Linked DNA regions of Homo sapiens: all the other regions are linked to region 7. The links are contacts of gene promoters, found by promoter capture Hi-C in blood cells and fetal thymus (Javierre and others, 2016). All regions are on one chromosome and are shown on one strand. Each heading gives the region's core, a stretch centred on a gene start or on the middle of the fragment in contact. The rest is flanking DNA. Distances are from core to core; before and after follow the strand shown.

What was found. Contacts are between HindIII fragments. The CHiCAGO score rates a contact against its expected background, and 5 or more counts as called.
Region 1: a contact is called between a fragment that was not itself captured here and the fragment with the promoter of EXOSC1 in region 7, in 2 of 17 cell types (endothelial precursors and M0 macrophages). The highest score is 7.5, in endothelial precursors.
Region 2: a contact is called between a fragment that was not itself captured here and the fragment with the promoter of EXOSC1 in region 7, in 1 of 17 cell types (neutrophils). The highest score is 5.3, in neutrophils.
Region 3: a contact is called between a fragment that was not itself captured here and the fragment with the promoter of EXOSC1 in region 7, in 1 of 17 cell types (erythroblasts). The highest score is 5.8, in erythroblasts.
Region 4: a contact is called between a fragment that was not itself captured here and the fragment with the promoter of EXOSC1 in region 7, in 1 of 17 cell types (endothelial precursors). The highest score is 5.3, in endothelial precursors.
Region 5: a fragment that was not itself captured here is called in contact with the fragment with the promoter of EXOSC1 in region 7 in 1 of 17 cell types (neutrophils); the score reaches 5.3 in neutrophils.
Region 6: a fragment that was not itself captured here is called in contact with the fragment with the promoter of EXOSC1 in region 7 in 6 of 17 cell types (M1 macrophages, M0 macrophages, endothelial precursors and 3 more); the score reaches 7.3 in M1 macrophages.

What each region holds. Positions count from the first base shown.
Region 1 is chr10:97,620,939-97,624,314 of GRCh38, forward strand. All of the region lies in intron 1 of MORN4 (MORN repeat containing 4), which reads right to left. Among named protein-coding and RNA genes, the nearest start is that of MORN4, 11 kb to the right of the region's middle. The HindIII fragment of the contact is 1,733 bases long and covers 540-2,272 here.
Region 2 is chr10:97,229,905-97,233,167 of GRCh38, forward strand. The region is part of intron 9 of ARHGAP19 (Rho GTPase activating protein 19); the gene reads right to left. All of the region lies in intron 9 of ARHGAP19-SLIT1 (ARHGAP19-SLIT1 readthrough (NMD candidate)), which reads right to left. It overlaps LOC105378447 (a long non-coding RNA gene), which reads left to right. Exons shown (of 3, transcript XR_946226.3): 3 at 1,252-1,334. Among named protein-coding and RNA genes, the nearest start is that of SLIT1, 46 kb to the left of the region's middle. The HindIII fragment of the contact is 6,324 bases long and covers 1-3,263 here.
Region 3 is chr10:97,680,272-97,683,321 of GRCh38, forward strand. The region is part of intron 1 of AVPI1 (arginine vasopressin induced 1); the gene reads right to left. Among named protein-coding and RNA genes, the nearest start is that of AVPI1, 5.4 kb to the right of the region's middle. The HindIII fragment of the contact is 1,455 bases long and covers 747-2,201 here.
Region 4 is chr10:97,595,736-97,598,677 of GRCh38, forward strand. All of the region lies in intron 1 of HOGA1 (4-hydroxy-2-oxoglutarate aldolase 1), which reads left to right. Among named protein-coding and RNA genes, the nearest start is that of C10orf62, 7.5 kb to the left of the region's middle. RefSeq lists an enhancer at 537-831. The HindIII fragment of the contact is 2,234 bases long and covers 496-2,729 here.
Region 5 is chr10:97,253,410-97,256,474 of GRCh38, forward strand. ARHGAP19 (Rho GTPase activating protein 19) reads right to left here. Exons shown (of 12, transcript NM_032900.6): 6 at 2,909-2,995. ARHGAP19-SLIT1 (ARHGAP19-SLIT1 readthrough (NMD candidate)) reads right to left here. Exons shown (of 15, transcript NR_037909.1): 6 at 2,909-2,995. Among named protein-coding and RNA genes, the nearest start is that of ARHGAP19, 38 kb to the right of the region's middle. The HindIII fragment of the contact is 1,175 bases long and covers 1,195-2,369 here.
Region 6 is chr10:97,652,734-97,655,709 of GRCh38, forward strand. The region is part of intron 2 of PI4K2A (phosphatidylinositol 4-kinase type 2 alpha); the gene reads left to right. Among named protein-coding and RNA genes, the nearest start is that of PI4K2A, 14 kb to the left of the region's middle. The HindIII fragment of the contact is 617 bases long and covers 1,237-1,853 here.
Region 7 is chr10:97,444,747-97,447,661 of GRCh38, forward strand. EXOSC1 (exosome component 1) reads right to left here and starts at 1,260. Exons shown (of 8, transcript NM_016046.5): 1 at 1,209-1,260; 2 at 986-1,101. The coding sequence starts at 1,239. It overlaps ZDHHC16 (zDHHC palmitoyltransferase 16), which reads left to right and starts at 1,429. Exons shown (of 12, transcript NM_198046.3): 1 at 1,429-1,607. RefSeq lists enhancers at 389-969, 970-1,549 and a silencer at 1,481-1,690. The HindIII fragment of the contact is 1,823 bases long and covers 517-2,339 here.

The DNA of each region.
Region 1 (3,376 bases), core at 156-2,655, 180 kb after region 7:
GGTAAAACCCCATCTCTACTAAAAATACAAAAATTAGCCGGGTGTGGTGGCGGGCACCTGTAATCCCAGCTACTCAGGAGGCTGAGGCAGGAGAATTGCTTGAACCCAGGAGGCAGAGGTTGCAGTGAGCTGAGATCACACCACTGCACTCCAGCCTGGGTGACAGAGCAAGACTCTGTCTCGAGAAATAAATAAATAAATAAATAAATAAATAAATCTGAAAAGAATCTCATGGATTTAGCCCAACCTCTCATTTTATAGGAGAAATAGAAGCCCAGAGAGGTAATAAAGTTTGTTGACAGCCTCCCCTGACTATGCTAGTCCTTTTTTCCTGTACAGCACAGCCTCTGCTTTTAGCTCAGGCTAACTTAAAGAGACCTTTGAAAGCTGGGCATAAGAGTTTACAGCATATGAGGGAGGAAAAGAGGCGACCTCTGCGGGTTTGTGAACCAGGATGTAATATGAAGGCAGTGTGTAAGGAAAATGAATGTGGTAGCACGAAGTGGGATGAATTGGAGCAGCAAGTCCATAGTCAGAAAAGCTTGCAAGGAAGGGAAATATGATAATGAAGCAAATTGTAAAAATGGGCAGAGTTATTCTCCCTCCGTTCATGACCCTACAATGTGACAAGGCAGATCCTCCCATTAAGAGGCAGAGTTGGCCGGGTGCGGTGGCTCACGCCTGTAATCCCAGCACTCTGGGAGGCGGAGTGGGTGGATCACCTGAACCAGAATGGCCAGCATGGAGAAATCCTGTCTCTACTAAAGATACAAAACATTAGCAGGGCGTGGTGGCGGGTGCCTGTAATCCCAGCTACTCGGGAGACTGATGCAGAAGAACTGCTTGAACTCGGGAGGCAGAGGTTGCAGTAAGCCAAGATCGCACCACTGCATTCCAGCCTGGGCGACAGAGTGAGGCTCTGTCTAAAAAAAAAAAGAGGCAGAGTTTATTTATTCCTCCACCTGCTGGACCTGGGTTGGCTGTGTGACTTGTTCTAGATAATGGAATGTTCGCAAAGGTGATCTAGCAGAGGTCTGCAAAGCACCTGTGCACTGGGCTTGCCCTCTTGCTACACTTGGACCTGTTCTGCCCCCATGTAAATGAGTCCAATCTAGTCTACTGGATGGTGAGACCCTGTCCCAGCTGGCCACAGATGAACAAATTGCTCAGGCAAGACTAGAAGAACTGCCCTTCTGAGCCCGGCCCCAAACTAGCGACCACAGACTCACAGGATAAATAAATGGTTATTGTTTCAAGCCACTGTGTTTTCTGGTGGTGTGTTATTACCCAGAAAAAGCTAACTGATACGTTCAGGCATGAGTCTGGGAGATCACAGTATAATGGGAGCAGAAGGAACAACTGGGGGGATACATCATAGGAAAACAATCAGTAACATTTGGGGACTGGCTAGATATGGCTTCACATTAGTGGTGAAAGGATGTATTGAAGGATATTCTATAAGAAGGGAACTGCACGGTGGCTCAAACCTACAATCCCAGCACTTTGGGAGGCTGAGGCTTGCGGACCACTTGAGCTCAGGAGTTTGAGACCAGCCTGGGCAATATGGTGAAACCCCATCTGTACCAAAATTACAAAAAATCCAAAAATTAGCCGGGTGTGGTGGTGCGTTCCTGTAGTCCCAGCTACTTGGGAGGCTGAGGTGGAAGGATCGCTTGAACCCAGGAGGCAGAAGTGCAGTGAGCCAAGATCACGCCACGACACTCCAGCCTGGGCGACAGAGGGAGACCCTGTCTCAAAAAAAAAAAAAAAAACGGAAGAAGAAGAAGAGGGAATTAAGATACCCCCCAAAATCATTAAATATAAACAGAGGCAAATAGTACGTCATTTGATAGACTAAAAAATACAAGCCCTATTTCTTTTTTAATTCCCTAGGTCTCTTCATTCATCCCTTCATCTTTCATTTATTTATTTATTTATTTATTTATTTATTTATTTATTTTTTAGAGACAGGGTCTTGCTCTGTCACCCAGGCTAGAGCACGGTGGCACGATCATAGCTCACTGTAACCTCAAACTCCTGGATTCAAGGCATCCCGTCACCTCAGTCTCCTGAGTAGCTGGGACTACAGGCGCACACTACCACATCTAGCTACCTCCTCATCTTTTCCAGATCTAAGCAATACAATGTTTTCTCCAGTAATTTTGACAATGCAGATTCCTAGGCCCAAACTCAGACTTACTGAATCAGATTCTGTAGTCAGAGCCTGGGAACCTGCAGTTTTAATAAGCACATCATTAGATCCTTACTTCAAAGCTTGTGGCCTACTGCTACAATAAATGGAAATACTGTGTGTGAAAAGTTCTCTGAACTATAAATCACTATTGAAAAGTCCTCTATCAACCAAGCATGGTGGCTCATGCCTGTAATTCCAGCACTTTGGGAGGCTGAGCAGGGACAATTGCTTGAGCCCAGGAGTCTGAGGCTGCAGTAAGTCATGACAGTGCCACTACAGCCTGGGTGACAGAGCGAGACCCTGTCCCCCTCCAAAAAAAAAGTCCCCTCTGATTAATAAGTAACCTAGAGTCTGACCCTCAGGCATCTGACTGAGTTCCAACAGGACAAGGACACATTCTCCTCAGAGTACTGGGGCCAGACCTGGTGGAGAAACAGGAAAGAATTCTTTTTTCTTTTAGAGACAGGGTCTCATTATGTTACCCAGGCTGGACTTGAACTCCTAGGTTCAAGAGATCCTCCAATCCCCTCTTAGACTTCTGAGTAGCTGGAACTACAGGTGCATGCCACTGCTCCCAGCTCAAAACAAGACGGGATTCTTTTTTTTTTTTTTTCTTTTTTTGAGACAGAGTCTCACTCTGTTGCCCAGGCTGGAGTGCAGTGGCATGATCTCGGCTGACTGCAAGCTCTGCCTCCCGGGTTCATGCCATTCTCCTGCCTCAGCCTCCCGAGTAGCTGGGACTACAGGTGCCCACCACGACGCCCCACTAACTTTTTGTATTTTTTAGTAGAGATGGAGTTTCACCGTGTTAGCCAGGATGGTCTCAATCTCCTGACCTCGTGATCCGCCCGCCTTGGCCTCCCAAAGTGCTGGGATTACAGGCATGAGCCACCGTGCCTGGCCGCAAGATGGGATTCTTAAATCTCGGGGGCCTGGCGCCAACAGCTAGCTTCCTTTTCCTTCAAGTCCCAGGGAAGCCAAAACCTCATCCAGTCAAGATGGAGTTCCAAAGAGTGGGTTCCATAGTTTCATAGCACAAAAGGGGTCTGGTATATTTTATGCAAAAGTGATGCTTTAAATGTTCAACTAAAACAACCCATATGTTAAATTTGCTTTCTCCACATTGTCATGGTGGACAGTGCTAGATTATTTATATTTCAATTCAGGTGGCACAACCCTCTC
Region 2 (3,263 bases), core at 752-3,251, 210 kb before region 7:
TAAACACCTACTGCATCTACAGTGGAGCTATACTAGCCTTCAAAACTGTAATGTCCTTGGGTTAAAAAAATCTCAGCATTCTGATAATCCTGTATGGACCCTCTCAGGCCATCTTATACAAGAGAGGCCAAAGCATGTTACCAAAAAAACCCAAAATCATTACTTTTGTTTAAGTGATCACTTTTCCTCCACATTTAAAAGGGCTGAAAGGTTAGAAGCAACTTTATAGTTGATTTAAACAAGCTAATATAGGTCAATTACAGTGTGCCTCTGAGACCAGTTACTCACAATATAGAAACACCAGTTACTCATCATATAATTTTTTTCCCCAAAGATGTGCTGTCTCTGGCAACTATTTAAAAAGTCCCTCCCCCCTACTTACCACTGAGGGATACTTAGGCTGGCTCTTCTCTAAGGCACTTCTTCCTCCCTGTCATTTACTCACACAGGACTGGAACATTTGGAGACATTCTATAAGAGTTCCTAATATAGCCACAAGAAGGTAGAGGCCTTCTTAAGGGGGTCACATGACTGTACTGACATTCAGAGCAAGACTAAAAGCCCTTTCATCTCTGAACAGCTTAGAAGATGATGTAGTTTAGGTAACCGCCAACAGTGACAATTCTACCATCTTTGGAGAAATTTTTTTTTCCCTTAGAGAATAAATTTGAATTCTAAAAAAAGAACATATCAAAACTAGAACATTAAACCCTGCATTATAAATATGAGCAGCAATATTCAGAACATTCTGATTTAATAAATAATTTACATGAGAGGAGTTCTGGAGGAAAAAACTCTAGCCAAAAAAGGGATCCAGACAGGCTAGATGGTCAATTATACCTTGATAAGGCTGAGGGAAAACACAAAAATAATATTTTAGGCCGGGAGCGGTGGCTCACGCCTGTAATCTCAGCACTTTGGGACGCTGAGGCGGGTGAATCGCTGGAGGCCAGGAGTTTGAGACCAGCCTGGCCAACATGGTGAAATACTGTCTCTACTAAAATTAACTGGGCGTGGTGGTGCATGCCTGTAATCCCAGCTACTCGGGAGGCCGAGGCATGAGAATCACTTGAACCCAGGAAGTGGAAGTTGCAGTGAGCTGAGATCATGCCACTGCACTCCAGCCTGCACACCTAGTGAGACTCTTGTCTCACCAAAAAAAAAAAAAAAAAAAAAAAAAAAAAAGACTAACACATAGAGGAACATTTATCTGACTATAACTTTTCTGATTCTCAATCATCTCTATGACAGGGAAGTCAGAGGGAATGACAGATTCTTCCAAATGAGAAGAAAAAAACAAGAGTAAACTAACGATGTTCGTTTTACTAGCCCTGTCTAAGCAGGTAAATGCACTTTTAGGATTCTAGCTAAGGGATTTTTTTTAAACAATGATAAAATGAACATAACATAAAATTTACTATTTTAACCATTTTTAAGTATACAGTTCAATGGTATTAAGTATATTAATAGTGTTGTGCAACCATCACCATCATCTATCTTCAGAACTTTCTCATCCTCCCAAACAGAAATACTGTACCCATTAAATAATATCTCCCCATTCTCCTCATACTCTTAGCTCCCCTGACAACCAACCACCTTCTCTACTTTCTGTCTCTGAACTTGACTCACAGGTACCTCAGTGGAATCATACAGTATTTTTCCTTTTATGACTGGATTATTTCTCTTAGCATAATATCTTCAAGATTCACGCATGTTGTAGGATATGTCAGAATTTCTTTCCTTTTTAAGGACAAATAATGTTCCATTATCTGTATATCCAAGGTTTGTCATCCATTCATCAGTCAATAGACAGTTGGGTTGCTTCTGCCTTTTGGCTTTTGTGAATAATGCTGCTATGAATACGGGTGTACAAATATTGCCTCAAGACCCTGCTTTCAATTCTTTTGGTTATATACCGGGAGTAGCATTGCTGGATCACAAGGTCATTCTATTTAAATTTTTTAGGAACTGCCATACTGTTTTCCACAGTGGCTCCTCCATTTTACATCCCTATCAATAATGCATAGGGGTTCCAAATTCTCCACATCCTCATCAACATTTGTTATTTTCCGTTGTTTTTTTTTTTTTTTTTTTAATAATAGTCATCCTAGTGGGTGTGAAGTGGTATCTAATTGTGGTTTTGATTTACATTTCCCTAATGATTAGTGATGTTGAACATCTTTTCATGTGTTTCTTGGCCATCTGTACATCTTCTCTGGAGAAATTTCTATTTAAGTCCTTTGCTCACTATTTTTTTTTTTTTTTTTTTTTTTTTTTGAGACAGAGTCTCGCTCTGTCACCCAGGCTGGAGTACAGTGGCTCAATCTCGGCTCACTGCAACCTCTGCCTCCTGGGTTCAAACGATTCTCCTGCCTCAGCCTCCTGAGTAGCTGGGACTACAGGCACATGCCAACATGCCCGGCTAATTTTTTGTATTTTTAATAGAGATGGAGTTTCACCGTGTTAGCCAGAATGGTCTTAATCTCCTGACCTCGTGATCCGCCCACCTCAGCCTCCCAAAGTACTGGGATTACAGGCGTGAGCCACTGTGCGCGGCCTCTGCCCACTCTTTAATGAGGTTGTTTTTGCTGTGTTGAGTTATAGGAGTTCTTTAGATTATTATGGATATTAATCCCTAATCATAAATATGATTTGCAAATATTTTCTCCCAATCCAGGGTTGCCTTTTCACTCTGTAGATGGCAAAGGAAATTTTGATGTCAAGTAAGCCTAATGTCCTAGAAGCTACTGGCCCCAGGAGGTCAGGATTGAGAGTGAATTCTAGATATCTATAAATTATAACTAGGACCAAAATTACAGTAAGATGAATTTGTAAATGCTAACAGCTGTACCTCAAAAAAAAAAAATTACAGACACAGTGGCTCACATCTGTAATCCCAGCACTTCAGGGGGCCAAAGCAGGAGGATCACTTGAGCCCAGAAATTCAAGACCAGCAACACAGGCTGGGCATGGTGGCTCACGCCTATAATCTCAGCACTTTGGGAGGCCGAAGCGGGCAGATTACTTGAGGCCAGGAGTTCAAGACCAGGCTGGCCAACATGGTGAAACCCCATCTCTACTAAAAATACAAAAAATTAGCCGGGCATGGTGGTGGGCGCCTGTAATCCCAGCTACTAGGGAGGCTGAGGTGGAAGAATCACTTGAACCCTGGAGATGGAGGTTGCAGTGAGCTGAGATCACGCCACTGCACTCCAGCCTGAGGCATAGAGCGAGACTGTCTCAAAAAAAAAAGACCAGCAACA
Region 3 (3,050 bases), core at 224-2,723, 240 kb after region 7:
GTAGCAGCTCAACTGTGTTGAGTACTTATACCAGGCACCTGTAACAGCTTGCTTCACATAGTATCAATGAGATGTAACAAGCACAACAGCCCTGTAAGGTAGGTATTTTAATCCTCCTCATTTCACAGATGAGGAATCTGAGGAAAGGTTAAGTCATCCATGGTTCTGCAACTAGGATGAGAACCCAGGCCTCTCTGATGCTAAGGCCCAGGTGCCGTAGCACAAAGGTAAGAGAGGAGTTGTGGAGCTGGGCTACCCGAGTTGGAATCCCACTTCTACCCCCTCCACCACTTACTGGCTGGGCATCCCCCCTGCCTCAGCTGCCTCCCGTGTCAAATTATCACCTAGTACTACTACCTACTTTGTAGGATTAATTTGAAGATTGAAGGAAGACAAAGTATATAGAATAGTGGTCAGTGTTTTCAATCTATAAAATTGAGACATCATCCCACCTCCTATCTTTAAGACCCTGGGGATGAACCAAATCTGTATAATTTAGCAAACATAGTATGAAATGAGCCAATCAGATCTAACCACAGTCCAGTGGACCTAATGAGCAAGAGGTGGAGGCAGAAGAGGAGGCTACAAGGGTTAGAATATACTGTCAAGGGCAGAGACTGAAACTTATAAGAAAGTTCAATAGAAGTTAGACTCTGTGTCAATGTCTCCCATCATATCCAGGAAGTGAAAATTAAAGGATCTCCCTTGATTCTAGATAGTTCACTTTGAATAATAAAGGCCTAAGAAGCTTACCCACCCATCCTTGTCTCCAGCACAGCCTGGAAACAAGGGAAGCCTGGCATTACATAGAACAGGTTTTGAGTTCCAACTCTGACACCTTAAGCAAGTTACCCAACCTCGTCTCTGAGCCTGTTTCCTTAACTGTCAAATGGGGATAAGATTACCCACTTCTTAGGGTTATAGTAAGGATAAATGAGCCCAGTATATCAGTTACCCAATAAGAGCTAAATAAAATTATATCAGTTACCCAATAAGAGGATAAATAAAAAATTTAAGAATACAATGATATGGCTGGGCGTGGTGGCTCACACCTGTAATCCCAGCACTTTGGGAGGTGAGGCGGGCGGATCACCTGAGGTCAGGAGTTCAAGACCAGCCTGACCAACATTGAGAAACTCCGTCTCTACTAAAAATACAAAAGTAGCCGGGCGTGGTGGCGCATGCCTGTAATCCCAGCTACTCGGGAGGCTGAGGCAGGAGAATCACTTGAACCCAGGAGGCAGAGGTTGCGGTGAGCCGAGATCCCGCCATTGCACTCCAGCCTGGGCAACAAGAGCAAAACTCCGTCTTAAAAAAAAGAATACGGCCGGGCGCGGTGGCTCACGCCTGTAATCCAGCACTTTGGGAGGCCGAGGTGGGTGGATCATGAGGTCAGGAGATAGAGACCATCCTGGCTAACAAGGTGAAACCCCGTCTCTACTAAAAAATACAAAAAATTAGCCGGGCGCGGTGGCGGGCGCCTGTAGTCCCAGCTACTCGGGAGGCTGAGGCAGGAGAATGGCGTGAACCCGGGAAGCGGAGCTTGCAGTGAGCCGAGATTGCGCCACTGCAGTCCGCAGTCCGGCCTGGGCGACAGAGCGAGACTCCGTCTCAAAAAAAAAGAAAAAAAAAAAAAAAAGAAAAAAAGAATACAATGATACAACAATTAAAAAATACAAATAAAAAATAGATACATTGTAACTACAAAACATTCACATTGTATTAGGTATTATAAGTACCCTAGAGATGATTTAAAGCATGCAGGAGGATGTGCGCAGTCTATAGGCCAACATGGCATTTTATGTAAGTGACTTAAGCGTCCCACGGAGGAGCCTGGAACCACCCTCCATGGATACTGAGGAATTTATAAACGCAAATCCTCCTCTGTTGGCCTCTGTGACCTTTGTACCTGGGTCAGGGGTACAGGTAAACCCTCCTCTTTCCTCTAAGCTGTGTGGCACAGCCAGCTGATGACAGGCCTGTGCTCCCACCCATCTCTCCCAGCCCCAGGCCTGCTGGGGAGAGGAGGAGCAGGTCCTGCTGCTTCTCCAGGGCCTGGTTGCCTAAGTCAGACCTCATTCCACAGCCAGCTACAGAGACAGCTGTCAACAGCAACCAGCTTCCAAAAGGGGAAAAGGAACATTAAAATATTTTTAAATTAAAATATTTACATGCTCATCATAAGAGGCAAACAGTACAAAAGCTTATATATAAAAACTTTTCCAATTTCCTATCAACCCACTTGCAGAAGTAACCCTTCCCCTAACCTGCCTTTTGTTCTCTGTAAGAGTTTGAATTGTCTCCGCCCCACTCATACTCCCAAAATATGACTCCCCCCCTTGCCCTGGCCTTCTCCGCTCCTCACCTCAATAGTCACCCTCATTATCCCAATCATTTCTATGCTCACTCTGTCCCAGTTTCCAGGCCTTCTATCATAAAAACTCCACCCTGTTTTCAAAAGATTTAACAACTACAATAAAGCTGCAGAAGACTTCCAGATGAGTTAACGTCATGAAAATTGTATTTTATTTGGAAAATGGAAATTTAAAAATCTGCCTCTCCTTAGGTGCTATTATGAAAATCCAGTTAAAACCTAATCTATATGGTAATTAAGCCCCCAGAGCTGGATGACATAAACACACTGTGACAAGAAGACAACAGTCGCCAAGTAACACTTTTAGGCTGATAAAAAGAAAAGCTAACTATGGGATATTTACTCTGGATCAGGCAATACGTATGATATCCTTTAATCCTCAAAACAATTCTAGGAGTTAGGGACTGTTATCCCATTTCACAGGGAAGTAAAGGGAAGCTAAGATGCAAATATGAGTACCAGTGGCTTAGCCGAGGCCAGAGGTGGTTCAAATGACTGCAGCCCATGCTTTTATTTTTATTTTTTTTTTGAGAGTGAGTTTTGCTCTTGTTGTCCAGGTTGGAGTGCAGTGTTGCAATCTCAGCTCACTGCAACCTCTACCTCCTGAGTTCAAGTGATTCTCCTGCCTCAGCCTCCCGAATAGCTGGGATTACAGGCGTCCCCCACCACTCCCGAC
Region 4 (2,942 bases), core at 363-2,862, 150 kb after region 7:
ATCACTATTTTTTAATTGAGTTAGCCTGGGCTTCTCTGACTTCAGGGCCTGTGCATCTGACCCCTCTTCTGTGAGCCCTCTGCTTTTCTGCTTTTTCCCCAGTCCCTGCTTCATTGGAGATCCTGGCCTTTTCCTCTCCTCTGGCCCCCTCTCTACACTAACAGGGACACATCAGGCTCACACCTGGACATCTAACCAGGGTGAAGGAGGGGCTCTTTGGGGTACCCACTCACAGATTTCTGGGACATTTTCTTATCCTTTAAAACAGTCCTATAAGCTAGGATTGAAATGATTTCACTGTCATCCCATAGAAAAGGAAACAGACTCAAAGATGTGATGTGACTTGTTCAATATCCAGAGGTGACTCTTGAGTCTAGTGCTGCCCTGACTACGCCACACTCCCTCTTCTCCAGCCAGGCACTTCTTCCTTCTTGGGAGTCAGGCATGAGTCAGTTGCCCCCTTCAATGAGACAGAAGAGAGGGCTGTGTCATAGAAGCTTTGAGCACAGTGTCTGCTTCTGACTCCCAGAGTGCAAGCCTCAGCTGTCCTGCTGTTTAGACCAGCTCCACCTGTAGGGCCCCTGGAACTGACCAGCAGGATGAGAGGTGAAGGAAGAGGGTGATGGTGGCTGAATCAGTGGCCGCAGCAAGAACCTGCCCCAGCCCAGGACGGCAGGCAGGGTTGGGGAGGAAGATGACTTTGGTATTGGAACAGAGAGAGTGGCAAGAGTTTGATCTTTGACTCTTTAGTCAGAGGGTGCTGGTCCAATCGTAGCTAGATTGGAGTCCTCACCCAGGGCTGGCAGCTTTTACGGAGAGCACTGCAGCCCCATGTAGCAAGACACAGGGAGGCCCTTCCTTGGGCTGCTAGCCTGACACACAGGAATCAATCCCCCAGAAGCAATCCCACAGGAGCGAGAAGCTGTGTGCCTCCAGACGTTCCCTGCAATGTTACCAATGCAAAATAACTACCAAAAAAAAAAAAAAAAAAGCAGCTAAATATCCAATGAGAGATATCCTGATATCCTGGCAACTCACTCTGGAATCTGACGGTGTAGTGAACAGCATGGAAAAAGTTGGTGGAATGAAGTGGAGTCTACATCACACAGTGTCCCCTGAAGGATGACTCACAGGAACAATTTCTCTTGGTCCCAGTGCCAGGAAACTCTGTGTTTCTCCGGGGCAGTTGCTTTGCTTTTATCTTTTGGGTTCTACATGTCTGTTAGCTGACCATGTTTCCCTTTTAGCTCTGGCTATCAGGAAACTCCACATCGAATTTCTGGCTCATTTCTCACAACTATATGGCAGGAACTTTGTATACCAATACTGCTTGTGGCCTTATTTTCATTTCCTTCTCCCAAATAGCCTCCAATTTTTTTTTTTTTTTTGAGACAGGGTCTTGCTCTGTCACCCAGGCTGGAGTGCAGTGGCACAATCATAGTTCACTGCAGCTTCAAATGCACCTGGTTTATTTATTTTTTATTTTTTTGTAAAGTCAGGGTCTCACTTTGTTACCCAAGGTGGTCTCGAACTTCTGGCCTCAAGTGATCCCCCCATCTTAGCCTCCTGAAGTGCTGGGATTACAGGCCCAAATATCCTTCTATTAATTAAGAATCCTGTTGTATTGTACTCTGTGTTTGTAAACTACTGCCATTTTTTTTTTCTTTAATGGAGTGGGATAGAGAGGAGAAAGAAGAAGAAAGAGAAAGTTAAGCGGGCTGGGCACTGTGGCTCACCTGTAACTGGTACAGGTATACTGGTTAGACATATCCCAAGTAAGTGATTGATAAAAACAGGAAAACGCAAAATAAAGCAATGAGATTCACTTTTCACCCAGAAAGTTGGCAAAAATTTGTTCTGACAATACCATGATTTGGCATGTATGACATTCTATGCTGCTCCTGAGGTCTACACTGATTGATTAGAAATGTGGCGCACAGTCAGGCATGGGGGCTCATGACTGTAATCCCAGCACTTCTGGAGGCTAAGGTGGGAGGATCACCTGGGCCCAGGAATTCGAGCCAGCCTGGGCAAAATAGTGAAACTCCATCTCTACAAAAAAAACTACACAAATTAGTTGGGCATGGTAGCTCATGCCTGTAATCCTAGCTGGCTAAGACAGGAGGATCACTTGAACCTGGGGGGCTAAGGCTGCCGTGAGCCGTGATTGTGACACTGCACTCCAGCCTGGGTGACAGAGTGAGACCCTCAAAGAAAAAGTAAATACATAAAAAATGTGTCACAGATGAAGGTGCACATAGCTATGACTCAGCAATTAACACACCAAAGTATCTGAACTCTAGAGGAACTCTTAGACATATGCACAGAAGACTTTACAGAAAATGTTTGTTTCAGCATTGTTTGCAATAGCAAATAGAAGAAAACATTCTTTTCTTCTTTTTTCTTTTTTGGTAGAGACAGGTAGGCCATTTTTTGGTAGAGACAGGCAGCCATGCTGCCCTGCCTGGTTTTGAACTCCTGGGCTCAAGCGATCCACCCACCTTGGCCTCCTAAAGTGCTGAAATTATAGGTGTGAGCCACCAGGCCCAGCCAAAAGAAGGAAACATTCTAAATGCTCTCAACAAGAGAATGACAAATAAATTGTGTTCTAACCTTACAACAGAATACTATACAGCAATTAAAATGAATGAATCAGGGCTACGTGTGCTTTTATGAACAAAGCTCAAAAAATAGTATTAAACAAACAGCAAACTGCAGAAGGCTATTTAAGCTTAATTCCATTTCTACAAGGCTTAAAATTGTAATAACCTTATTACATAAGGATCACTTGAGCCCAGAAGGTCGAAACTGCAGCAAGCTATGGTTGAGCCACTGCATCCCAGCCTGGGCAACAGAGTGAGACCCTGTGTCTAAAAAAGAAAAATGATGTGAACAGTCATTGCAGCTGTGTGGGAACCTTCTGTCTGCAAAGATGGGAAGGA
Region 5 (3,065 bases), core at 532-3,031, 190 kb before region 7:
GAGGGAGAAAAAGAAAAGAAAAGAAAAAAAGATTGATCTCATAGAGGTAGGGAGTAGAATAGTTACCAGATGCTGGGATAGGTGTTAGGGGTGAGAGTAAAGATCGGTTGGTCAATAGGTACAAACATGTAGTGAGATAGAAGAAATATGTTCTAACACTTAATAGCAAAGCAGCATGACTATAGTTAACAACAACGTATGGTATATTTCAAAATAACTAGAAGAGGGGACTTGAAATGTCCCCAACACATAGAAATGACAACTATTCAATGTGATGGATACTCTACATACCCTGACTTGATCATTGCACATTCAATCCAAGTAACAAAATATCATATGTACCCAATAAATATGTACAAATATTATGTGTCAATAAAAAGTTTACCAAAAAATCATATGCTGAGGTTGCTAAGATCCACTATAAGAATAAATCTATCTATGAAACTGTGAAGAAGAAAAAAGAAATTCGTGCATAGTATACATATAGGGTTTGGTACTAGCCACAGTTTCAGGCATGTACTCAGGGCTTTGGAACATATCTCCCATGGATAAGAGGGAACTACTGTATAATGAAAACTATAAAATACTACTGAAAGGAATTAGAGAAAACATAAATAAATGGAAAAGTATCCCATTTTCATATTATTGGATAAGATTGCTAAGATGTCAATACTACTCGAGGCAATCTACAGATTCAATACAATCCCTATCAACCTTAGAAACATCAAAATACCAATGAGGTTTTTTGCAGCAAAGATAGAAAATGCATCCTAAAATTCATACGGAATCTCAAGGCATCTTCAACAGCCAAAACAATGTTAAAAATGAAGAACCAACCTGGAGGACTCGAGCTTCCTGATTTCAAAATTTACCACAACACCTTTACAACATTTACTAATCACACCACCATGGTACTGGTATAAAGTCAGATAAGTAGACCAATGGAATAGACTAGAAAGCCAGAAATAAACTCTTACATATATATTCAAATGCTTTTCAATAAGAGGACCAAGACCAATGGAGAAAGGACAGTTTCTTCAACAAATGGTGCTGGGAAAACCATGAAACCACATGCAAAAGAATGAGGTTGGACCCTTACCTAACACCAGAAACAAAACTTAACTCAAAATGGGTCAAAGACATAAACATAAGACCTAAAACTATAAAAACTTTTAGAAGAAAACATAAGGCAAAAGCTTCATGACAATGGATGTGGCAGTGATTTCTTGGATATGACACCAAAGGCACAGGCAACAAGAGAAAAAATTGACAAATTAGACTTCATAAAATTTTTTTAAATTTGCACATCAAAACACACTATCAACAAAGTAAAAAGGCAACCCACAGAATAGGAGAAAATATTTGTCCATATAGCTGATAAAGGATGATATCTGGAATATAAAGGGATATCCATCAACTGATGAACAGATAAGCAAAATGTGGTATATACACACAGTGGAATACTACGCACCCTTAAAAAGGAAGGAAATCCTGTCACATGCTACTGTGTGGATGAACCTTGAGCACACTATGCTAAGTATAAATAAGGCAGTCACAGAAAGACAAATACCGTATGAGTCCACTTACATGAGGTACTCAGAGTAGTCAAATTCATAGAGATGGAAGGTAGAATGGTGGTTGCCAAGGATGGGAGGAGGGTTTTACGGAGTTACTGTTTAATGGGTACAGAGTTTCAATTTTGCAAGATGAAGAGTTCTGGAAATGGATGGCGATGATGGCTACACAACAACGTGAATGTACTTAATGCCACAGAACTGTACGCTTAAAAATGGTTAAGATGGCAAATTTTATAAGCATTTTACTGCAAGAAAAAAAGAAACCAGAACTGGATGATCTTGGAAACTTTCAGCCTCTCCAGATGGCAAAAGATGCTAAAATTGGCACACGCCTGTAATCCCAGCACTTTGGGAGGCTGTGGCAGAAGGATTGAACCCAGGAGTTCAAGACCAGCCTGGGCAACACGTTGAAACCCTGTCTCTACAAAAAAATACAAAAAATCAGCCAGGCGTGGCAGTGTATGCCTGTGGTCCCAGCTACTGGGGAGGCTGAGGCGGGAGCATCACTTGATCCCAGAAGGTTGAGGCTGCAGTGAGCCAAGACTGTACCAATGCACTCCAGCCTGGGCGACAGAGTGAGACCTTGTCTGAAAAAAAAAGATGCTAAAATTAAGAGATTCACTATCAAGGAAGTATACACTAAAGAAAAGGTCAAGGATGTGACTGTGCTACGTTTTGCTAAAACCTTAGAAACATCAAAAGGTCAGAGTATTCAATCATACAAAGGGCCCTTTCAAGAGAGTAAGAGCGTACCTCACAGATCCTCTCAATTAAACCAGAAAGCCTTTAGGAAGCTTAAAGGTACTGTCCCTTAGGTTTCTCAGCAGGTGACCAAGGTAGGGAAAGATTTATCTTCAAAAGATTTGTATATGTGGCCTTTGTCTAATAGAATGAATCTCAATGAAATCCACAGAAGACCTACAAAGTTCTTAGAAAATTATGTCAGCAGAAATACAGCCTGTTTGGATTGAAAGGGCCAAAGAGTACAAAATGACCCCCAAAATTCTACTGGCAGACCCCCAAAACTCTACTGGCAGTAAGCAGGCAGGATAAAACTACCTAGCTGCCACGTGTGCTGCCTTTGTGAAAAAGGAAGAATGGCTCAGAGGGTGGAGTCAGTTACCCAGAGGACCCAGCCCTACTCAGCCTCCTATTCCTACTCCTTTCCACCATAGTGGTTGTTACCCCCTGGGTTTTGCCACTGTCCATTCTGGTTTGCAATCCCATTCAGGACCTTTTTCTCGTTTAGTTATCTTTATAGCCCCACTTAGGATCCCACCTTGCTCCATTTTCTTTGTCCTGTTACCAGCCAAATGCTATCCCTTACCTACCTTAAAAAGTTTCTGGGAGTGTTTAATCATAAAAGCCATCCCACTGTTTAACTTTGTGATATTCTCCTGAAGGTCATTTGCAGTGACCTATTCAGAGGAAAAGAAACCAAACAATGGACATTAAGAGCTAGAAAGTAGTACTTACCAATAAGCCTGT
Region 6 (2,976 bases), core at 295-2,794, 210 kb after region 7:
TAAACTCCAAACAATTAGCCAACTAGTTTGTAAGTTATAGAAGTCAGAGACCACTTCTCAAGATTTCCTCTCTCATTCTCAGCACCTAGCAAAATACTATATTTATAGTAAGCATTCATGAAGTACCAGCTGAGTCAGTAAATGAATATGAAATCATGAGAAACAATACCAAAGTTCTTCCAACTTTAGGTCTAGCGAGAAAATGTTTGACCAGGCTTCTAGTTCCCATTTCACATCTAATTCACTGCCTGGCTTTGTACAGCTCATTCCTTCTCTTTATGCCTTACTTTTCCCTCTCTGTGCAGATAGTTTTACAGCATGCTTTGAACATCTTGTATGATAATTAATGTTCTTAAGTCTCCTAACCTGAAATGCTTCTACTAGGCTCCTCTTAGACTCTAGAAACTTTTACATTCTCCTTGCTTATCACTCTATAGTTTTCTTCCTTTACTAGGCAAATAGCAGACCGTGTCTGGCTCTATGCCTACCTGCTCTGTTGGTGCTTCTGGAGTGTGGTGCCCAAGAATCAGAGGACTTGAGTTTGAATTCTTGCTCTGCAGTTTTTGATTTGTGTAACACTTGGGCAAGTCATGTAACCTCCCTAGGCTCAGTTTCCTTACTGTAAAAATAGGGATATAAATAGTTCCTACTTTGTAGAGTGGCCATCAATATTACACAAGACAGCCTATATGAAGCACATAGCTGAGTGAGTGCCAGGCACAACGTAAACCCTCCATATGTTAGCCTGTGATATTTTTATCAGCTATTCTAATCGTTAGTGTCACCCCCACAATCCCTTTCGTCCCTATCTTTGGTCTTCCTCTTTCCCTGTTAGAGAACCTTCACGAGGCCTGAGGATCTTTTGCATCAGAAAGTCAGCAACAACAAAAATACTTGTCTTGGCTGGGCTCATTGGCTCACGCCTGTAATCCCAGCACTTTGGGAGGCCTAAGTGGGTGGATCACCTCAGGTCAGGAGTTCGAGACCAGCCTGGCCAACAGGGTGAAACCCTGTCTCTACTAAAAATACAAAACTTAGCTGAGCATGGTGGTGCGTGCCTGTAATCCCAGCTACTTGGGAGGCTGAGGCAGGAGAATCGCTTGAACCTGGAAGGCAGAGGTTGCAGTGAGCTGAGATTGTGCCACCACACTCTATCCTGGGCAACAGAGCGAGACTCCGTCTCAAAAAAAAAAAATACTTGTCTTCCATGAGACTGAGATGAGACAGAACTTTGGAAGCTTAACATATAGCTGCTGGAGAATAGTAAGAGGACTCCTCTCCCTGTCTCCCCAACTCTTGTGACAGGACTCTATCCAGTTGATCAGAGCATCTGTCATTATAGAAACAAGGTTCACATTGCATTGGAACTTCAAATGGTAAGGCTCTAATTCTCACTCACTGGCTGTCTCTGCTCTCTGCTCCTATGAGGTTTCAGGTTATGATAGTTTCATTAGTCATGGGGAAAAAGTGGTTTGTTAGGAAGAATGATAGAAAATAAATATGATGGGGGCAAAAGGGGATTTATGGCTTGAGAGAGCCAGGAGTTTCACTGTGGACACTGGCAAGGTAGCCTTAGGAAAGCTCTTTTTCCTTCATTCCTATGCCTGAGTTTTCTGATTTGTAAGGCAGGGAGTGCCTACTACAGTACCATGCACATCCATTTTAGGTAGTCTATTAATACTAGATGGTAGCATGGAGCGATAGATGAGAGGCAGTTATTTTGCCTCTCAGGTTCATGGGAAAAAAAATAGTTATTTGTAATAAATTTTACAAGGCTTAGGAAAATACCTTTCTTATAAGTTTGATTTTAGGTATTTATATGCTAAAACTCACTTGTTGCTGTCTCTGAAAGAAGCTTGTAACTCATTCTTCATTCACTTAATAAATATTTAATGAGCATATGCCAGCTACTGTGTTAGGTGCTGTGGATGCTAATATAAATAAGATGTTCTCCGCTTCCTCAAATCTCATTCATTTTAAAGGAGGAGTTAGATATACAAATGGATAATTACAAGACAATGTGATAAGTGTGACAATAGATGCATATGTGGATTACAATTACGTCACTGCAATTTGACTTAAGTATAATATTGATGGCTCATAAAAATTTTTTTTAGAATAAGTAATGCATGCATCTAGTATAAAAATCAGAAGGCACATAGGGTAAACAGAGAAAAGTAATTCAGACTCCCTGCTACCCCTATCTCCTGGCCATTCAGTTTCCTTCCTCAGAGGCAGCCAGGATTACAGTGTATAGCCTATACATAAAAATAGCAGTTAATTAAAATGAAAACCAATTTTAATGTTTGTGTTTTGAATACGAATAATTTCACAAAGTAAAAAAATTCAAAAGGGCCCGGGCACAGTGGCTCATGCCTGTAATCCCAGCACTTTGGGAGGCCGAGGTAGGAGGATCACCTGAGGTCAGGAGATCAAGACCAGCCTGGCCAACATGGTGAAACCCTCTCTCTACTAAAAATACAAAAATTAGCCAGGAGTGGTGGCACACACCTGTAATCCCAGCTACTTGGGAGGCTGAGGCATGAGAATTGCTTGAATGCGGGACTTGGAGGTTGCAGTGAGCCGAGACTGTGCCACTGCACTCCAGCCTGGGCAACAGAGTGAGACTCTGTCTCAAAAAAAAAAAAAAAAAAAAATTTTTTTTCAAAAGGAAATGAAGGGGTACAGAGTAAATTGCAACTTGTTTGTCTCTGGAAAGAAGATGGGCATTTGGCCTAATCTAACCCAGGAGATGACAGTGTTAATCCTTGTACTTCATACTAGCTGCTGTAACAACCCTTAAATCTAAGTGGTTTAATACAATTGGATTGTATTTCTTTTTTATCATATTTTTTTTGGGACAGAGTCTCCCTCTGTCACCCAGGATAGAATGTGCAGTGGTGCGATCTTGGCTCACTGCAACCTCTGCCTCCAAGGTTCAAGCCATCCTCCCACCTCAGCCTCCGAAGTATCTAG
Region 7 (2,915 bases), core at 10-2,509:
TACTTACTCAAAGCAGAATCAAAGTCAAGTTAGCCAGAACGTAACTGTTCTAATTCTGAATCCTCTTTCTATTGTGCTCCTTCAAATATTGCTTATATGATCCTGAGCTAATCCTGGATCTATCTCTGAAACTAGAAAGGTAGGTATTACTCACACATTCAACATTTATTGAGGAGCTGCCTTGTGCTATATACGGATGGTATGGTGGTAGGGCCTGCTTTCACGGACTTAGATTTAAGCAGGGGAGAAGTCTAGTAGGAAACATATACCTGAGTGTCTCATCATATGCTGACATAGTGCTTGGAAGAAAAGGAACAGAGTTTTTTGTGAGTCTTTAACAAAACAAACAAAAACAAAACACCCCACAAAACTCCTTTCCTCAATTAGTGGGTCCAGAAGGACTTCTCTGAGGTGATAGTAGAGAAGCTATCTAAAGGAGGTAGGAATTAAATAGGCCTAGGAAGATAGAAGCGTTCCAGATAGATGGCATGTTACAAAGGCTCTGTAGCAGGAGAAAGCTTGGCGCATTACCGACACTGAAAGAAGCTAGTATGTTATAAAAAATTTTTAAAGGGCAAGCAGAGACTGTGATTATAACTTTTAAACACAGAAAAGACAGTATGACTAGATTGCGTCAGTGAGGTGGAGATAGTGGCGCTAGATAAAGTCGGAAAGGTAAGCAACATTCATACAGTATGCAACTCACTGCTGGGCTGAGCTGGGCTGGGATGGGATACTGAGTTCGCATCTGCTTTTGTCCCAACTTCCCTCCCCGAGGGTCAGCAGCACAACCAAGCGAGATCAACACAACTAGTGTGTGGTGGCTAAGTGCACCACAGCGGCGATACGGCTAGAAGAAACTAAGAGACCAACATTGTACCACTGAGGCACTAAAGACGCGTCCGCAGTGCCCATGCCTAAGGACTGGAACTCAAGGGCAGCCTAAGGGAAAAACAGAGGGGAGATGGCATGCCGCTTCCTTTACCGCGCCATTCTCGCTGCTCTTCATCAGACAGCCGGCAAGCGACGAAAAGATGTAGCCGTGGCGGGTGTAGGTGCCGCTGCCCGGGCTGCCCTCCTCCAAGTTACACAGACGTTCGCCTGCAGAAAAAATGCTGCATCGGTCACGGGCCCCCAGAAGCTGTAGGCCGTTTAGCCTTCTTGCTTCAGCCCCTATCCAGGACTCTGTACGGGAAGCGCTCACTTACCGGGGATGCAGTATCTCACAGGTGGCGCCATGATTGCCGCTGTCCCAAAACCAGGATGAAAACGAAGTCGATTTCTCATTGGCCAAACCCAGGCACAGTTCCGCAGTAAGACACGTGTCAATTGGTACTCTTTATCCTTGCGAGTAAACTCCATTTCCCAGGTTACCCCGGGACAAATCCGGGGGCGGAACTTCAGAGGTCCACGCTGGCGCCTGCGCGTGTGGTTGAGGATGGGCTGGCGGCGGGTCCGGGTCCGCTGCCTGGCGCTGCGGGCGGCGGGCCATGGTGGTTTGGATTGAGCCGGGCCCGGCCGGGGCGCCGAGTCGGAGGGGGTGGCAGTGAGCGGCGGCAGAGGCTACGGGGCTCGGTTTGGCTGACTGGGGAGTCGGCAGGCGGCAGGTAAGGGCGAAGCCTCGGCCCTTGCTCCCCATCCTAGTCCCTTTTTCTGGGTAGGGCACTGCCCTGGGGCCTTGTCTTGAGTGCGGGTTCCTGCTCTCTCCTCGCCCCGCCCTGCGGGGCCGTGCCCTCCTCAGCCCGAGCGCACCTTCCGAGCAATCGTTACGCTCAGAGCAGGAGGGAAGGAGGTCAAGCGACCCAACTCGTCTGTTTCACAGATATGGAACCTCAGATTCAGAGACAGGGTTTGACTTGTCCAAAATGATCAAGATAGTTAAGATAGAGCCCAAACTGGAACCCACGGTTTTTGACTTCCAGTCCATCGCAGTTTCACCTCGCGGCTGTCATTGAGAAATAAAACCTTTTCCCGGTTTTTTTGTTTTGTTTTTGAGGAGTCTCGCTCTGTCGCCAGGCTGGAGTGCAGTGGAGCGATCTCTGTTCACTGCAACCTCCGCCTCCCGGCATCAAGCGATTCTCCTGCCTCAGCCTCCCGCGCAGCTGGGACTTACAGGCGCGCGCCACCACGCCCAGCTAATTTTTGTAGTTTTAGTAGTGACGGGGTTTCACCATGTTAGCCAGGATGGTCTTGATCTCTTGATCCGCCCGCCTCGGCCTTCCAAAGTGCAGGGAGTACAGGCATGAGCCACTGCCTCCGGCCTTTTCCCGGTTTTTTAAACTGCAGCTTCCAGTCCTGCGGTCCGATCCTCTTCGCGGCCCCTCATCCCCACTTCAGTAAGCTTTCTCTGGTTGAAAAAGCCGAACTCTGGTTGTGTGGGCCCGTCATCAAAAGATAAGCAGCCCCAAAATAAAGTTGTTACTCTTTTTCTTCTCAGCGTGTTAGCCCAGAAGGGAGGTCTGCACATGAATAAAATGCTACTCTTTATTGATGTTGGGTATCTCCTACTTGAGATTGCAAACATCCTGAGAGCAGCGTCTTTGTCCAGATGACATTCGCCACGACTTTGATCTCAGTTCACCTGACTTCTGATGGCTTTGCCGTCTGTCCTTCCCTGTCCCCTCAGTCGACTTTCCCATTGGGAAACAGATGTGACTTAAAGCCATGGGAAGAGGGGAGTGTTGTGGCCAGCAATCTCCTCCAGTCTGGTGGCAGATGACCAGTATGGCCTGTGACTATTACTGAAGGATCAGAGTACTCGGGCTTGTGCTTGGGGTGGTAGTAAAGCTGCGCTTTGCTCTGTTTCCTCCCGTTCACTGAGATTAGCCCCTTCTCCCCTACACACATCTTTTTGAATTTTGCTTTACTTCTATTTCTTGAGATGAAAAGTCTGGGCCAGGTGCGGTGGCTCACGC